Linked DNA regions of Homo sapiens: region 2 is linked to region 1. Evidence: promoter capture Hi-C in human tissues and cell types (Jung and others, 2019). All regions are on one chromosome and are shown on one strand. Each heading gives the region's core, a stretch centred on a gene start or on the middle of the fragment in contact. The rest is flanking DNA. Distances are from core to core; before and after follow the strand shown. Region 1 holds the start of BBS9 (Bardet-Biedl syndrome 9). Region 2 overlaps AVL9 (AVL9 cell migration associated).

The links. Contacts are between HindIII fragments. The study calls those that stand out against the background at their distance.
Region 2: a contact is called between a fragment that was not itself captured here and the fragment with the promoter of BBS9 in region 1, in 1 of the 25 tissues and cell types used here (dorsolateral prefrontal cortex).

Annotation. Positions count from the first base shown.
Region 1 is chr7:33,128,171-33,130,870 of GRCh38, reverse strand. It overlaps BBS9 (Bardet-Biedl syndrome 9), which reads right to left and starts at 1,307. Exons shown (of 23, transcript NM_198428.3): 1 at 830-1,307. RefSeq lists enhancers at 1,245-1,354, 1,845-1,894 and a silencer at 1,405-1,704. The HindIII fragment of the contact is 11,941 bases long and covers 1-2,700 here.
Region 2 is chr7:32,580,477-32,583,176 of GRCh38, reverse strand. AVL9 (AVL9 cell migration associated) reads right to left here. Exons shown (of 16, transcript NM_015060.3): 15 at 2,287-2,375. It also overlaps the pseudogene DPY19L1P1. Among named protein-coding and RNA genes, the nearest start is that of AVL9, 86 kb to the right of the region's middle. The HindIII fragment of the contact is 9,751 bases long and covers 1-2,700 here.

The DNA of each region.
Region 1 (2,700 bases), core at 58-2,557:
GTTGTAATTTAACCACGACAATTACACACAAGGAAAAATCCCTTAAACTCTGACAAATAACTTGTAACTTATTTTCAAAATAAAGTTTTTTAAAATTCTTCTTTAAAAACTTCTGGGTTTTCTAGTTTTTTTTTTAATTCTTCCGTATATTCATGAAAAAAATCTCAGTAATTGTTTTCTTTATAAAATGCTAATAAGTTAGAAAATCTTTCTCTGAATGCTGGCCAACTTAAGACCCATAGCTTATCCTGCAGCATCTTTCAAGTTGTTTATCAATGAGGACATGTAAGATGTGTATACCTGTAAGATACGGTTTCATTTTTAAAGTAAAAGTGAGATACCCAAAAAAATACATTTCTCCAGGAAATTGAAGTCAAAGGCAGGATTTGACTGGCAGGAGGTGCTGATAAAATCAGCGCAGCTCATCTAAACTGTTGTGGTCTCCAAGTAACAAGAGGAGAAACAATAATCCTATTACTAGAAGGATTGGGGGTATTAGTACATGCATCCTACTTCAGTCGTAGGCTGGGAACTGCTTTGCCCATTTACTCACAGACCTGTTGAAGTGTCTCAGGAGGATGCTCATGCTCCAAGTGACATTCCTCAATGGAATCCTTAAAAATTCTCATCCCTTTTTTCTCAAAAGTACTCACAGAATCTCATACACTTTGTGCTCCTAGTGTTTGTTTATTTCAGTGCAAACATCTAAGAAATCAATCACCTTACAGACTCCAAACCATTATACTGCATTAGAGAATCTTGTTCACAAAATAAAACATGGAAAGGGTATTCATGTACCCGAAGTTTAACAACAGACATACCATCTTACCTGATGCCACGTCAGATGAGCTCTGCCCCACCTTTCTGCGAACCCTCGTTCGGCAAATTTTGCTTTATGAACGCCTGACAAGGTCCCAGTGATGGAGCAGAGGGAGCAAGAACGGACGGTGCAGAGAAAAGCAACCTTTAGCTTCACTATTCCCTCTCGTCCTCCAGCTGAAAGTTGTTCCACGTCCCGGGCAAAGAGAGAGCCCCACCAGGCAGCACCACCAGCTCCACAGAGTTGGAGTGATTCCCCCAAGAAGCTCCCCTGCGCCCCCCGTCACCCCCAGAGACCAGCAGAGGAAACGGCATCTATCCCTTGGAAGACACTAGGCAGGCGAGAACAAATGCAAGTCCTGCTGCTCACACCGAGGAGGAAAGGATGGAGGAGGCGGTGAATGGGATGTAGCAGAAACCCGACGGCCGCAGCGGAAGGGACACCTCCCCTCTCCAGCCTAACTCTGAGCCATCTTCGCCCTGTTGTCATAGCACTTACAACGGACGCCACTGCGCAGGTCACGCCGTGCCGCGCCGACTTCTGGGGGCTGGAGTCCAGAGAGGCTGAGGCGCAAAGGCGGGGACCGACTTCTGAGAGGGCCGCGGTTGGAATTAGATTGCTACTGGGGCGGGGCTCGAGTGAACCACGGCCTGGTCCTCATTAGCAGAGAGTGATAATTACTGCAATCCTCTGCCCTGTCCTGGCAGCAGTTCCTTAAGGAAGACCCTCCTCCTGCCTGGGCTCCGGGGGCAGGCCACGCCCCCCCGGCCGCGTGACCGCCCTCTCCCCTCGGTGCGTGTGGGTGGGGCCTAGTGGGGGCGGGGCGTCACTGGCTTGTCCATGGTGCTCTGGGATCCTGCGCTTCTGAGAGTCCCAATCGCGGTGTTTTTTTCCTGCCGGGACACTCATGAGGGCCCCGTCCATGCACCGCGCGACCGTGGCGAGGGTGGTCGCGGTAGCGAGCGCCAGCGTGTGCGCCCTGGTGGCGGGGGTGGTGCTGGCCCAGTACATATTCACCTTGGAGAAGAAGGCGAGGCGGAAGACCAAGATCATCGAGATGATGAAGCTTTTGAACAGTTTCCAGTTTTTCCTTTTTTTACTATTTGAAACAGCGCTGCTTTGAAGTTACTTGTGCCTGCGTCCTGATACACATGTGTTAAATATATTTTCCGTATATACCTTAGAGTGCATTTCCTGGTATATGGGATTGGATCTATGTCTTCTTTTGTTTTTTACTTATTTTTTTTTAATCTTTACATTCAAATTCAATGTAGCCAACCTTGAAGTTTTTCTTGTTTGCTTTTTTCAATGGATTCTAGTGTAGGCTTTAAATTTCCAGTATTTCACCATCAATCCACAAATCCACATTCCCAGTAGAAAATACCATTCTAGTTTTAGTTTTTTGGGTTTTGGGTTTTTTTTTTTTTTTTAACTGAGACTGGGTCTCCCTGACAGGGTCGCCTAGACTGGAGTGCAGTGACAGGATCACTGCTCACTGAAGCACTGAAGCCTCAGCCTCCCGGGCTCAAACGATTCTCCCACCTTAGCCTTCCTAGTAAGCTGGGACTACAGGCACAGACCACCACACCTGGCTAATTTTTGTATTTTTTGTAGAGATGGAGTTTCGCCATGTCCAGGTTGCTCTCGAACTCCTGGGTTCAAACGATCCACCCACCTCAGTCCCCCAAAGTGCTGGGATTGCTGGCGTGAGCCACCGCGTCCGGCCTCAATATTTTTAAAAATGACCTTTCAGTCAAAGCCTTGGTAATATAACCAGTTTCCAATTGTATTCTGCTATACAGAGAGAGCAGATTTTTATTAGACTTATTGAAATGACCATATTACCATAAGAAGACTCACAAATGGTTTTCTAATTATGG
Region 2 (2,700 bases), core at 103-2,602, 550 kb after region 1:
CAAACTGCTTTGTGTATCTTCAATACCAACTTGATAATCAATAACCATCTAAACAGGGAAGAGTGGTTAGACTGTTGTAGGGAAATGTGCTTTTGTCATCTAAAATGAAGTTATGTTACACAAAGATGTATAGAGCTCTATCTGCCCCAGGTCTATTGTGTTTTATAGAACAGTATCTCAAAAGTTGATGTTAGGCCAGGCATGGTGGCTCACACCTGTAATCCCAGCACTTTGGGAAGCCGAGACGGGTGGTTAGCTTGAGTCCAAGAATTCGAGACAGCCTGGGAAACATGGCGAAACCCTCTTTCTACAAAAAATAGAAAAATTAGCCAGGCATGATGGCACATGCCTGTAGTCCCAGCTACTTGGTAGGCTGAGGAAGGAGGATCCTGCCAGGGGTTGCAGGGATTGCAGTGAGCCAAGATCGCACCATATTGCACTTCAGCTTGGGCAACAGAGTGAGACCCTGTCTCAGGAAAAAAAGGTGATGCTAAGTGAAATTATTTAAGTTGACTAATACACTCCCACTATTCTTGGACAGAAGAGTATAGAAGAGATTTGGCTTTAGAATTTAACTATCAGTAGCAGCATCACTAAAAAATAATAACGTATAATGATGTATCTATAATAATCTATAATATAGCATAGTTTTTCTATTAAAAAATAAAAATTCAAAATAAGCCAAAGGCATATTGTTTGGAAATAAATGTTTGTGTGCTAAATTCCATTCCTTTGCAATAAAACTAATCTAGTGGTAGCGCTGTGTGTTGTCTTTACAAATGAGTCTGTAGAGTTTTCTGTCTCTCTCTAGGTATTCAGAAAACTAGGGATATAAGGACACCTACACAAAGATTACTTAGTTCTGGGGCTTTTGAATTGTGTTCAGTAACGGTTAGTCAACCTCTTTCAGAAGCTAGGGAAGTAGTAATGCCCTATTTTTACAACACATTGTATGACAAAGCAGATGGGGCAAAATGTAAATAATTGGTGAATCAGAAGATAATTGGGAGTTTCTTGCACTGTTGCAATGTTCAGGTTTGAAACTACATCAAAATAAAAAGTTAAAAATATAGAAAAGGAATGAAAAATTTTAGAACTGATGTGGAACAATATTCAAAATATTTTAAGCGAAAACAGCTAGGTGCAGAAGAGCATGCTACCATTTGTCTGACTTTGATACTAATATTGGCCTCATCCAATGAGTTGGGGAGTATTACCTTATTTAAAGATTTTGTGTAAAACTAGTATTTCTTCCTTAAACATTTGACAGAGTTCAAACTGAAGCCACCTGGGCAGCCTGGTTTAAATTAAAAACCTTATGGCAAGGCTTTTCACGTTAAATTCAATTAATTTCTTTCTTTCTTTAAGACTCTTGCCCTGTCACCCAGGCTGGACTGCTCACTGCAGCCTTGACTTCCTGGGCTCAAGCAATCCTCCCACTTCAGCCTTTCAAGTAGCTGGGACTGCAGGCACACACCACCATGCCTACTGACTTTTTAAATTTTTTTTTAGAGATGGGGTCTCACTATGTTGCCCAGGCTGGTCTTGAACTCCTGGACTCAAGCAATCCTCTCACCTCAGCCTCCCAAAGTGCTGGGATTACAGGTATGAGCCACTGCATTCGGCCCAATTTCTTTAATAGATAATAGGGCTATTCATATTTTCTTTTTGCAACTGTGTTGGTAATGCGAATCTTTAAAAAAATTTGTATATTTCATTTATGTTGTTAAACTGGTTAGCATAAAGTTGTTCACAATATTCCCCTATTTTCTGTTCTTTTAATTTCTGTAAGAGCTACAGTAATGTCCCTCTTTCATCCCTAACGTTGGTAATTTGTACCTTCTTTCTTTTTATCTTTACCAGATTTTATAAATATTGTTGATCTTTTTGAAAAACCAACTGTTGGCTTCATTTTCTTTATTGTGTAATACTACCTTAGAGGATAGCAGTTCCTAATACCTACTTTTATTATGAGTCTCTGCCATTTATAAAGAACTGTGGACAGCACAGGGAATGGGGGAAGAAAACTCTGGTGCAGCTTGAATCTTGGTAGCAAAACAGTGACTTCATCAGAAAATTTTGTCACTCTCTATTAGATAATGGAGTTTGACCATTTGGAATTTGGAATTTTTCAAATGAATATGACAAAAATTTAAAAAACTCTTGTATTACTATGTGATAACACAGATCTTTACAACTTTATGTTTGTTTTATCAATTACATATTAAAGATAGAAAATGGATGTGTTGTGATTCCAATTTGTTCCTGGCTAAAGGCATGTCTTACCAACAGCTTTTCCTGTTTGTACAACATTCCGGCTAGTTGTGACCATGACGTTTCCAATTTTTTTGCCACGTTCACTATTCTGAACAGAACTGGGTAAAAGATAAGATAAAAGAAGTGTTAGGTACAATTTTAAAAAAATCTCACACACGCACACAGACACATATAGACACACACACAATAGTCACTCTGTAACCATCCAAAATTAGAATTACTGAGAAAAGAAGCTAAATTATTATTTGTTATGAATTAATTTATTAACCTTTTAAGCATGTGCATTTTCAGAATACACGAGAAGAACATACAGATGAACCAAAAAGTGGTGAGGACATAAGGATGTATGTATGGCTGCATCTCTCCGACAGCCACGGCTTGCTAAAAGCACTTCACCAAAATAAAAATGGTAAATCCTGTTAT